4 separate regions of the Homo sapiens genome follow, and all the other regions are linked to region 1. Evidence: promoter capture Hi-C in 16 types of primary human blood cells and fetal thymus (Javierre and others, 2016). All regions are on one chromosome and are shown on one strand. Each heading gives the region's core, a stretch centred on a gene start or on the middle of the fragment in contact. The rest is flanking DNA. Distances are from core to core; before and after follow the strand shown. Region 1 holds the start of MRPS16 (mitochondrial ribosomal protein S16). Region 2 overlaps PPP3CB (protein phosphatase 3 catalytic subunit beta). Region 3 overlaps PPP3CB (protein phosphatase 3 catalytic subunit beta). Region 4 has its middle 1.8 kb from the start of ANXA7.

What was found. The method cuts DNA at HindIII sites, captures the fragments that hold promoters and counts their contacts. A CHiCAGO score of 5 or more calls a contact.
Region 2: a fragment that was not itself captured here is called in contact with the fragment with the promoter of MRPS16 in region 1 in 2 of 17 cell types (megakaryocytes and endothelial precursors); the score reaches 5.7 in megakaryocytes.
Region 3: a fragment that was not itself captured here is called in contact with the fragment with the promoter of MRPS16 in region 1 in 2 of 17 cell types (erythroblasts and megakaryocytes); the score reaches 6.1 in erythroblasts.
Region 4: a fragment that was not itself captured here is called in contact with the fragment with the promoter of MRPS16 in region 1 in 3 of 17 cell types (erythroblasts, M2 macrophages and endothelial precursors); the score reaches 6.2 in erythroblasts.

The regions. Positions count from the first base shown.
Region 1 is chr10:73,251,290-73,254,179 of GRCh38, reverse strand. MRPS16 (mitochondrial ribosomal protein S16) reads left to right here and starts at 1,536. Exons shown (of 3, transcript NM_016065.4): 1 at 1,536-1,710; 2 at 2,157-2,417. The coding sequence starts at 1,698. It overlaps CFAP70 (cilia and flagella associated protein 70), which reads left to right. Exons shown (of 28, transcript NM_001367801.1): 28 at 125-418. The coding sequence ends at 205. All of the region lies in intron 2 of DNAJC9-AS1 (DNAJC9 and MRPS16 antisense RNA 1), which reads right to left. RefSeq lists enhancers at 1,141-1,400, 1,521-1,810, 1,250-1,817. The HindIII fragment of the contact is 1,832 bases long and covers 581-2,412 here.
Region 2 is chr10:73,476,543-73,479,432 of GRCh38, reverse strand. It overlaps PPP3CB (protein phosphatase 3 catalytic subunit beta), which reads left to right. Exons shown (of 14, transcript NM_021132.4): 2 at 1-116; 3 at 810-934. Among named protein-coding and RNA genes, the nearest start is that of PPP3CB-AS1, 18 kb to the left of the region's middle. RefSeq lists a silencer at 576-776. The HindIII fragment of the contact is 2,614 bases long and covers 124-2,737 here.
Region 3 is chr10:73,457,157-73,460,046 of GRCh38, reverse strand. The region is part of intron 9 of PPP3CB (protein phosphatase 3 catalytic subunit beta); the gene reads left to right. Among named protein-coding and RNA genes, the nearest start is that of MSS51, 25 kb to the right of the region's middle. The HindIII fragment of the contact is 4,585 bases long and covers 1-2,890 here.
Region 4 is chr10:73,414,452-73,417,341 of GRCh38, reverse strand. No RefSeq gene overlaps it. Among named protein-coding and RNA genes, the nearest start is that of ANXA7, 1.8 kb to the right of the region's middle. The HindIII fragment of the contact is 2,147 bases long and covers 284-2,430 here.

The DNA.
Region 1 (2,890 bases), core at 287-2,786:
GAGCCAATTCCATCCCAGGGAACTATGTTCTTTAGCCGTAGCCCCACAAAAGAGGGGTCTTCAAAGCCACATAAAGTATATCACGTATGACATATATCTTTCCCTTTCTTCCTCTTTCATGTAGCTGAAATTGAAAGATGAGGCTCTGCTTGCAGAGATCCACACACTACAGGAAACAGTTGGCTTTGGAAATCCATCTTTCTGATACCCCTCCAGCTGAACAATTTTCTGCATGGGACTCTGAGTTCCTTTCCTTCCCAGAGAGTTTTACCGTATGAAGCCTGGAGCTGGAGAACGAAAGAATCTTCACTATAAACAGAGACCCATTCATTTATTTCCATTGGCTGTGTTACTGGATGTTTTACTGGTTGACGAGAAACTGGGTCACAATAAAAAAATGGAGATATGAAACTCAAAATTCATCAGCATGGTTCTGGAGTTAACGTATACTGAGTTACATGTAGGTATTTAGTTATATAAATAACTATAGTGTAATTGCTATAATAATTATATGGCATATATATACATACAATAAAATTAAGGTATAGTGGGGTCATTATTAGGGTTTCTGATGAAAGCTTATTGGATCACTCCTGGAGGAAGTCAGGTGCTAAGGTTTCTGGACAGGTTCAGTTAACTGAAATACAGGAATTAAGGCATCATTTTCAAAGGTGGCCCTGGAGGAAGACTGCTATGCTGGGTCACTGTATTAGGGCAAAGAGCATGCTAGCCCTTTGGAACTAACAGTAAACGAAAAAGCTGAACAGAGAGGTCTTTGCTGAAGGTGGAGCTATTGACACCTTCTCACCAAACACAGGCATCTTCATGGATCTAAACCACTAGGGCTCCAAGGAGACACCGTTACCCTCATCACCGAGGTCATATTCTAGGGCTACAGATAAAAAAAAAAAAAATCATACTTCACCTCTGCCCTGGATCACAGCACGGCAAAAGCAGGAATAACCCCTCCTTTTTTTTTTAAGGTGTGACTGCCTCGATAGGGGTGGGACGACAACAGGAGAAAAGGTGAGAGGTAAATTAATTTTGGTTAACGAGAAGGATAAAGTAAAATCTAGTCACTTACAATCCTTCTCCTAGTCTCGGCCCTGACACTACCTCCTCTGTGAAGTCTTCCTTAGCAAGCACTAGGTTTGCCTTCTCTGCTCGCTGTCCTTGCGCTGAGTACTACTGATCGCGCTAGTTTCTCTGCTGTCATCTCACGGTCTCCCCAGCGGACTGTGAGCTCCACGAGGAAAGAACAGCGCCCTTTAGTATTTGCGTTCTCAGCGTTGCGCCTCGGCACCAACGCTTGCAAGATGGATGGCTTTTGTAGCACTTTCCTTGGCGCGCCTGGGATTCGCCTAAAACTTCTGACTCCAGCAGGGACTCACAAGTCTGAGAGGGATCGCACCGCCACTCCCACAAGACACCACGAGAAACGCCTCTTTTGCAGCAGTTTAAGGTACGTTAGGGGTCACCGTGTTGCATTGTGGGAAGTATAGGGCGGCAAGCGGAGGAGGCGTGGCGAGCGGATCATCCGCTTCCGGAGTCGAGGTTTTCGGGCTTGTACCGCTTGGCGGTGCGGCCTGGTGTCGGCTTGCAGGTTCTTTCTGTGTTTGTTCTCTGCCCTGCCAAGGCCGTAGAGCTGGTGCGTGCGGGTAGCGGGGCTCTCCGAGGAGCCGCACGCCGGCGGCACCATGGTCCACCTCAGTGAGTCATCGGGCCACCGCGAGACGTTCCGGGCGGTCACGGGGCTCGGGAGTTCGGGGCCGGGTGGGGAGAGCTCTCCCAGGCGCGATGGAGGCAACCCGAACCTGAAGCAGCCACACTGCCTTACATTTGATCCTTCTCTCAGTTTTTTCCCCACTTAATCACCGCTGAAAAATTTCCACCCCATTGAAGCAGCTAAGGCTCCGACAAGGTCACAGAGCCTAGTGAATGGCAAGCCCATGCGGGGTGGGTTTGGGTATGAGGAGGAGGTCATTGCTGGCTGGACTGGCCAAGAGGGGTTTCACAAAGAAGAGTAGCATCTAAACTGGATTGACAGGAATGGATTGGAAGTGAGACATTTCAGTGGGAAAAGGGAATTGTGCCGTCTGTGTCATTTTGTCCTTTTTGTGCTGTTTTTTGTGTCCTAACCAGCTGCTTTTCTACAGCTACTCTCCTCTGCAAGGCCTACCGTGGGGGCCACTTAACCATCCGCCTTGCCCTGGGTGGCTGCACCAATCGGCCGTTCTACCGCATTGTGGCTGCTCACAACAAGTGTCCCAGGGATGGCCGTTTCGTAGAGCAGCTGGGCTCCTATGATCCATTGCCCAACAGTCATGGAGAAAAACTCGTTGCCCTCAACCTAGACAGGATCCGTCATTGGATTGGCTGCGGGGCCCACCTCTCTAAGCCTATGGAAAAGCTTCTGGGTAACTCAGCTCTGGTCTTACCTTATTGAGGGGATTTTAAACTGAAGTCAGCTCCAGGACAGTAGGTGTAAGAATGATTTTCGGCTGGGCACGGTGGCTCACGCCTGTAATCTCAGCGCTTTGGGAGGCCGAGGCGGGCGGATCACCTGAGGTCAAGAGTTTGAGACCAGAGTGGCCAACATGGTGAAACGCTGTCTCTACTAAAAATAAAAAAAAAAAATTAGTTGGGCGTGGTGACACGCACCTGTAGTCTCAGCTACTGGGGAGGCTGAGGCAGGAGAATCGCTTGAACCCAGGAGGCGGAGGTTGCAGTGAGCCAAGATCGCGTCACTGCACTCCAGTCTGGGCAACAGAGGGCGATTCCATCTCAAAGAAAAAAAAAAAAGAGTTATTTCATTCCCTCTAGGCTGTTCAGGACTGAAGTGGGAGCTGAAGTTGTGATCTAATTGGCATTTTGAATCTGGAGGCCCCTT
Region 2 (2,890 bases), core at 181-2,680, 230 kb before region 1:
CCACTTGGTGAAAGAAGGTCGAGTAGATGAAGAAATTGCGCTTAGAATTATCAATGAGGGTGCTGCCATCCTTCGGAGAGAGAAAACCATGATAGAAGTAGAAGCTCCAATCACAGGTAAGCTTATTCATGTTTTGGGTATTATTTTTATTATGTCATTATTTAGTTGCCTGGATTTACAACTTACTGTTTTCAATGATACTGTATGCTAAATCAATATTACTTGGACATTATCTTGAATTTCAAATTATTTTCCATACTTAAAAATGATTGCCTGTTTTCAGTGAATAGACATGATTCTAAATAATCTGAGTGTAGAAGTTAGTCTAATATGCTTTTGTGAAGGTTTCATCAATTGTGTTGACCATACTTCAATTTGATCAATACTTACTTTGCTTTCAATTGTTAGGGTCAAATACCTTGATGTCATATCAGATACCAAAAGTGACCATTTAGAGAGCAACAGAAAGTATTGAGTTAGAATGGATATTTTAACTGCCACCATTGTAATTTTGTCATCTTGAAACTTAAAACACATCCTTGGAGTCCTAGAGACGATCTTTATAAATGTAGATTTCAGTTTGTCACTGACCACAAATTTCGTTATTTCTGTTACATCTTTTTCTAGATCTTGAGCACATGAACACTTGGTTACACATCATCCTAATCATGACTGTTCATAGACTACTTCCTTCTCAGACATTTCTTGATAGCATTTGTACTATGTCTTATGTAAAATACGTTTTAACTTAAGTAAAATTTGTTGTTTTAGAGATTTTTTTCCCTTATCTAATAATCTTCTTGTTTCAGTGTGTGGTGACATCCATGGCCAATTTTTTGATCTGATGAAACTTTTTGAAGTAGGAGGATCACCTGCTAATACACGATACCTTTTTCTTGGCGATTATGTGGACAGAGGTTATTTTAGTATAGAGGTAATAATCATAAACTGTCATTTGATTTGCTGTTAAGTGTTAACACAGATGCTTTCACTTAATCCTAGTTTTCACAAGTACCTGTGTTAGGTTTTTTTAATAACTCTGCATATTCTGAAGTTTTTATGAAAAGCTACTATTTATTCCTGTTCTGTCTTTCAAACAATTCAAATAAATTTCTTTGTATAACTCTGTTTATATAATTATAATTGCCATTTTTTTCCCAGTGGAATTTATGAGCTGACTGAGGGGTCTTTATTGCCCTGTTAACTAGTGGCCTTAAAAATTTAGTGCTATTTATCTCTCTTGCCCCTAAAGGCATTAAACCATGTGAAAAAAGATTACTTGAATTCTGTCTGATTAAATAAAGTATATTGTGATTTTTTTATTGCTTGAGCCCTAGTGCTTCTGTTTCTCCTTGTGTAGCTATTAAGACTCAAGTATATCCTATGGAATCTTTGTGTATTTGGAAAGTATTAATTTGTTTTTAAAAACTTGAGGCATTAAAATGACCTTTTGATTATCACTTAACAGTAGATGGTTCCTTTTCTTCCTTTTTCTCTTTTCTTTTTCTTTTTTTTTGAGACAGGGTCTTACTCTGTGGCCCATGCTGGAGTACAGTGGCACCAGCATGGCTCAATGTAGCCTTGACCTCTTGAGCTTAAGGGATCCTTCTGTCCCAGTCTCTCAAATAGCTGGGACCACAGGTACACACCACCATGCCTAGACTAATTTTTAATTTTTTTGTAGCAATGGAGTTTCCTATGTTGCCCAGGCTGGTCTTGAACTCCTGGGCTCAAGTGATCCTCCTGCCTTGGACTCCCAAAGTGTTGAGATTACAGATGTGAGCCACATTGCCCTGCCATCTTTTTAAATTATATAAACAAAATGCAGCAAATGTAGAACAATATGTATTTTCCAATATATACATTTTTTCTTTTTTTAATGAAAAGGGGATCATATTATAATATTGTCTGTAACTTGCTTTTTCATACATGCCTACACCAAATATCCTTCCAAGTCAGTAAATATAAACTCGTAGCATCATTTTAATATCTACATTGTTTTCCATCTAATAAACAAACCATAATTAATTAATTCCTTGTGTTAGACACTGAAGATGTTCCCAGTTTTTTTCTTTACAAATGATGCTTTAATGAGTCATATTATTCATACATCTTTACATACTTGCCTGATTATTTTTGTAGGACAAATTCCTAGAGGTAGAATTGTGGGGTCAAATTTCTACCAATAGATACCTGTGTTGCACATTTAATATGTTCTAAGCATGTTCTAGGCACTGAAGACATATCGATTAATCCTCACAATAATATTAATGAGGTAAGTACTGTTGTTTTATTCATTTTATAGATGAGGAACCTGAGGCTTAGAGAGGTTAAGTAACTTGCCCAAGGTATTATTAGTAAACAGCATAGCCAGGCAATGTGACTCCCAGCATATGCTTTTAACCACCTTCCCTAGTAGATACTGAAACCTTACCTGGTGAATTTATGTTGGTTACTGTTGTTTATATCTCCTTCTCCAGTGTTTCCAATATACCTTTTTTTCTGAGGTGTGCTAGGATTCTCAGAGTGGAAGGAAGTTCTAGACTCTGTCTGTCCTGCTTCCCTTAGGAATTTTGCTATTTTGAGTTCTTCTTCCTCCTGCTGATAGTTGATTATTAGCCTCGTCAACTTTTCCCAAATTGTCACAGGGCTTCAGGCAAATCAGAAAATGGCCCATTTTAACAAAAAAATTTCAGGCATTTGACCAAAACAATAAAATAAACAGTTTTATGAAGCTTATTTGGTAACTAAGTTGGTGTGCATGTCCTTGTGTAAGATTGTTTTGCAGCTGACTCTTTTTTTTTTTTTTTTTAATTGAGATGGACTCTCACTCTGTCGCCCAGGCTGGAGTGTAGTGGCGTGATCTCGGCTCACTGCAACCTCTGCCTCC
Region 3 (2,890 bases), core at 244-2,743, 210 kb before region 1:
CCAGTTTTCTGAACGTGTTATGCTCTTTAAGTTTTATACCCTCATACTTTTCTTTATTTTTTATAACTGCTTTATTGACATGTAATTCACATACCATAAAGTTGACCTATTTAAATTGTACAATTCCATGTTTTTTATATACTACAGAGTTGTGCAATCATTACCACAGTTTTGGAACATTTTCATCATCCCCTCCAAAGAAACCCTGTGCCCATTAGCAGTCACTCTTCATTTTCCCCTAACCCCCCTTGCTAACCCTAGGTAACCACCAATCTGCTGTCCCCATAGATTCACCTATTCTGGACAGTTCATATAAATGGAATCACACAGTGTGTGCTCTTTTGTGACTGGATTCTTTCCATGGTCTCAAGGTTTATCTGTGGTGTAGCATGAAGCAGTACAACATTCCTTTTTATGATGGAATAGTAGTCTATTGTATGGATATAGCACATTTTGTTTGTTTTATTCATCAGCTGATAGACATTTATTTCTACTCTTGGACTTACTAATAATGCTGCGAAGAATATGCATGTGCAAGTTTTATGTTTTCATTTTCTTTTTGAGACAGAATCTTGCTCTGTCGCCCAGGCTGGAGCGCAGTGGCGCGATCTTGGCTCACTGCAAGCTCCGTCTCCTGGGTTCACGCCATTCTCCTGCCTCAGCCTCCTGAGTAGCTGGGACTACAGGTGCCCGCCACCATGCCCAGCTAATTTTTATATTTTTAGTAGAGACAGGGTTTCACTGTGTAGCCAGGATGATCTCAATCTCCTGACCTCCTGATCCACCCGCCTCGGCCTCCCAAAGTGCTGGGATTACAGGCGTGAGCCACCATGCCCGGCCTATGTTTTCATTTTCTTGAGTATAGACCTGGGAGTGAAATTGCTGGGTCATATTGTAACTCTATGATTAACCTTTTAAGGATCTGCCAAACTGTTTTCCAAAACAGCTGTACCATTTTATTGTTGTTGTTGTTTTTGAGACAGAGTTTTGCTCTTGTTGCCCATGCTAGGGTGCAATGGTGCGATCTCGGCTCACCGCAACCTCTGCCTCCTGGGTTCAAGTGATTCTCCTGCCTCAGCCTCCTGAGTAGCTGGGATTACAGGCACGCACCACCACGCCCGGCTAATTTTGTATTTTTTAGTAGTGACGGGGTTTCTCCATGTTGGTCAGGCTGGTCTCAAACTCTTGACCTCAGGTGATTGTCCCACTTCATCCTCCCAAAGTGCTGGGATTACAGGCATGAGCCACTGCGCCCGGCCTTAGCTGTACCATTTTACAGTTTCATCAGCAGTGTATATATTCTTTGGATGAAAAAATATATATATTTTAATAAATATACATTTTAATATATAAACATATACTTTACATATGTAAAATATATTTTAATATAGAAAATACATGTATATTTTAATATAGAGACAGGGTTTCGCCATGTTGCCCAGGCTGGTAACTCCTGAGCTCAAGCAGTCTACCCGCTTTGGCCTCCCAGGGTGCTAGGGTGACAGGCATGAGCTACCACACCCAGCCGAGGATGAATATATTTTCAAATCCTTTGCTTATTTTATAATTGGGTTATTTGTCTTAAAATTTTCTTTATTAAAAAATTTTTTTGCCAGGTGCGGTGGCTCACACCTGTAATCCCAGCATTTTGGGAGGCCGGGGCGGGTGGATTACCTGAGGTCAGGAATTCAAGACCAGCCTGGCCAACATGGTGAAACCCTGTCTCTACTAAAAATACAAAAATTAGCTGAGTGTGGTGGTGCGTGCCTGTAATCCCAGCTACTCAGGAGGCTGAAGCAGGAGAATTGCTTGAACCTGGGAGACAGAGGTTGCAATGAGCCAAGATCACACCACTGCACTCCAGCCTGGACAACAGAGTGAGACTCCGTCTCTAAAAAATAAAACAAAACATTTTTTTGTTGTCTATATAAATTTATGAAGTATAAGTGTAATTTTGTTACATAGATATATTGCATAGTGGTGAAGTCAAGGCTTTTAGTGTATCTATCACCAGACTAGCATACATTGTACTTATTAAGTAATTTCATCTTCCACACCTCTCCCACCTCTCTACCCTTCCAAGTCTCCTTTGTCTATCATTCCACACTCTACCTCCATGTACATATATTATTTAGCTTCCACTTATGAGAACATGCAGTATTTTTCTGTCTCAGTTGTTTCATGGGAGATAATTATTGAGTTGTGTTTTTTAGATATTCTATATGCAAGTCCCTTACGTATATGATTTACAAATAATTTTCTCCCATTCCACTTTCACTTTCTTTCTTTCTTTCTTTTTTTTTTTTTTTGAGACAGGGTCTTGCTGTGTCACCCAGACTGGAGTGCAGTGGTACCATCTTGGCTCACTGCAACCTCCACCTCCCAGATTCAAGCGATTCTCCTGCTTCACCCTCCCAAGTAGCTGGGATTACAGGCATGTGCCACCATGCCCGGCTAATTTTTGTATTTTTAGTAGAGACAGGGTTTCACCATGTTGGTAAGGCTGATCTCAAACTTCTGGTCTCAAGTGATCCACCTGCTCAGCCTCCTGAAATGCTGGGATTACAGGCATGACCCCCGGCCTAGCTGACTTTCACTTTCTTGATAATGTCCTTTAGGCTTTCACTCCATCATCTAGGCTAGAATGTTGGAGTGCAATCGTAACTCACTGCAATCTCAAACTCCTGGACTCAGGCAGTCTTACCGCATGGCCTTCCAAGTAGGTAGGACTACAGGCATGTCCTACCATGACTAGCTTTTTTTTTTTTTTTTTTTTTTTTTTTTTTCTTTTTTAGAGATGGGATCTTTGTGTTGCCTAGGCTGGTCTCACACAAATTACTAGGCTCAAGTGATCCTCCTTCTTCATTCTCCCAGGTAGCTGGGATTACAG
Region 4 (2,890 bases), core at 108-2,607, 160 kb before region 1:
CAAGCTTGGTATGTTTGGACCGAAGGCCACTGTGTTCAGAGGTTAGTGATTAAGGAAAGTGAAGGCCAGGCGCCGTGGCTCACGCCTGTAATCCCAGCACTTTGGGAGGCCGAGGCAGGTGGATCACGAGGTCAGGAGATCAAGACCATCCTGGCTAACATGGTGAAACCCCGTCTCTACTAAAAATACAAAAAAATTAGCTGGGCGTGGTGGCAGTCACCTTTAGTCCCAGCTACTTGGGAGGTTCAGCCAGGAGAATGGTGTGAACCTGGGAGGCGAAGCTTGCAGTGAGCTGAGATTGCACCACCGCACTCCAGCCTGGGCGACAGAGCAAGACTCCGTCTCAAAAAAAAAAAAAAAAAAGTGAAAAGGGATTAGATGAGCGATGTAGGCAGGGACCAGATTATCTAGGGCTTAATAGACCATCAGGAGTTTGGATTTTATTTTATTCTGGTTCCAGTGGGAAGCTATTAAAAAAGTTTAATCACGGGAATTACATGACCCAATTTATTCTTTAGAAAGATCACTCTGACTCAGGGTTTCTTAACCTCAGCACTATTGACTTTTTGGGCTGAATAATTCTTTGTGTAGGGACTGTAGGCATTGTAGGATACGTACCTTGTTTAGAATCCTTGGCTTTCACCCACTAGATGCTAGTAACCCCACCACCTCCCCTCAGTTGTGACAAACAAAGATGTCTCCACACATTGTCAGGTGTCCCTGAGGGACAAAATTACTATTCTAATGGAACAAAAAGGATATGAACTTAAATACCAGACTCTGGGCCAGGCGTGGTGGCTCACACCTGTAATAATCCCAGCACTTTGGGAGGCCGAGGTGGGTGGATCACCTGAGGTCAGGAGTTCGCCTGGGCAACATGGCAAATCACCGTCTGTATTAAAAATATAAAAATTTAGGCCGGACGTGGTGGCTCATGCCTGTAATCCTAGCACTTTGGGAGGCTGAGGCGGGTGGGTCATGAGGTCAGGAGATCGAGACCATCCTGGCTAACACAGTGAAACCCTGTCTCTACTAAAAATACAAAAAATTAGCCAGGCGTGGTGGTAGACACCTGTAGTCCCAGCTACTCGGGAGGCTGAGGCAGGAGAATGGCGTGAACCCAGGAGGCAGAGCTTGCAGTGAGCCGAGATCGTGCCACTGCATTCCATCCAGCCTGGGCAACAGAGTGAGACTCTGTCTCAAAAAAAAAAAAAAAAAAAAAAAAAAAAAAAGCTGGGCGTGGTGGCGGATGCCTGTAATCCCAGCTACTTGGGAGGCTGAGGCAGGAGAATTCGTTGAACCTGGGAAGCAGAGGTTGCAATGAGCTGAGATTGTGCCATTGCACTCCAGCCTGGGCAACAGAATGAGACCCTGTCTCAAAACTACAAAAACAAACAAAAAAAAACCAGACTCTGATACAGTGGGATGTTCACATTAGAAGCATGATGGCTCTTATTTCACATGAACTCTGGAACATACCATGGCCTTCAGAGATGTTGACCAGGTATGGTGGCTCATGCCTGTAATACATCCAGCACTTTGGGAGGCTGAGGCAGGTGGATCGCTTGAGGCCAGGAGTTCGAGACCAGCCTGGCCAACATGGCGAAACCCCATCTGTACTAAAAATACAAAAAAATTAGCTGGGCGTGGTGACATGCCTCCCAGCTACACGGGAGGCTGAGGCATGAGAATCGCTTGAACCCCGGAGGCAGAGGTTGCAGTGAGCCTAGATCGCACCACAGCACTCCAGCCTGGGTGACAGAGCAAGACTCTGTCTCCAAAAAAATTAAAAAATTAAAATGGTCCAGTTGAGTACAAAAAAGAAGATCAGGAAGAGTTTATTGGAGCAAGACGGAGATGAGCAACCTTGAAAACAAGTCTAATTAAGATGAGTAATTGTTAAAAGATGAGCAGTGCTTTCTAAGCAGAGGTAGCAGGAGGAAAGGGTCTCCGATCCTGTAACGCCTTTTATGCCAGGAAGAAAGGATGAATTGAAAGGATGAAATGGCAAATGTCGTAGTAGACTATTGGACTATTCCTGCAGCTCAGGAAAGTGGGCTGGAAATAAGAGGTTTGGCAAATACCCTGTTATGGTGGTATTTAAGGCAGAGGGAGGGTTTGGAACGAGCTCACAAAGGGAACTCTAGAATGAACAGAGTAGGCTTCTCAGGGAAGGCTTAAATCCTGGAGGTCTCTGGGGTAGGTAGGACAGAAAGTCCTGTTATTTTCCAGGTAGACAGACTGTTGGGCGCCGGGGAATTAATGCTGGTCACCTAGAGAGTTGTGCATTTTGTCTACCATTGTTAAATGAGGCAATGACCTGCCTCAAATACTTTTCACTCCACACACCTATTTGGAAGCCACGTATATTTTGCTTGCTCTTCCCATTTAAAATCGTAATCCACTCTATTCCACCCCCATGAGGAAGCTTTTGGGTAGAAAAGTGTGTAGAGGAATAAGTAAGTTGATGTGCATCAGATGTGCAAACTTTAGTGTGCATCAGAACCACCTGGAAGGCTTGTTAAAACAGGTTGCTGGGCACCACCCGGGGAGTTTGATTCAGTAGGTCTAAGGTGGAGTTCAATAATCTGCGTTACTAACACGTTTCCAGGTGATGCTGCTGTTCGGGGGACCACACCCAGAAGCTACCTTTTACCACTCTAAAAGGTAGCTGATTGGTTTTCTCTGTAATATAAATTCCTTAACGAGTTTAAAATATTGATCTGAGCCCTCGTAATTGCCTCAAATGTTTAATGCTAATGTGTGTTCAATGCTGTAGCCACGAGGGGAGCCTAAAATCACCTAACAACTCCTTTCGGGAGTGATTTTGATTAGTTCATCTACAGTTCCAACTAAGATTTCCCACAAATATTACTTTCACAGGAGGCTA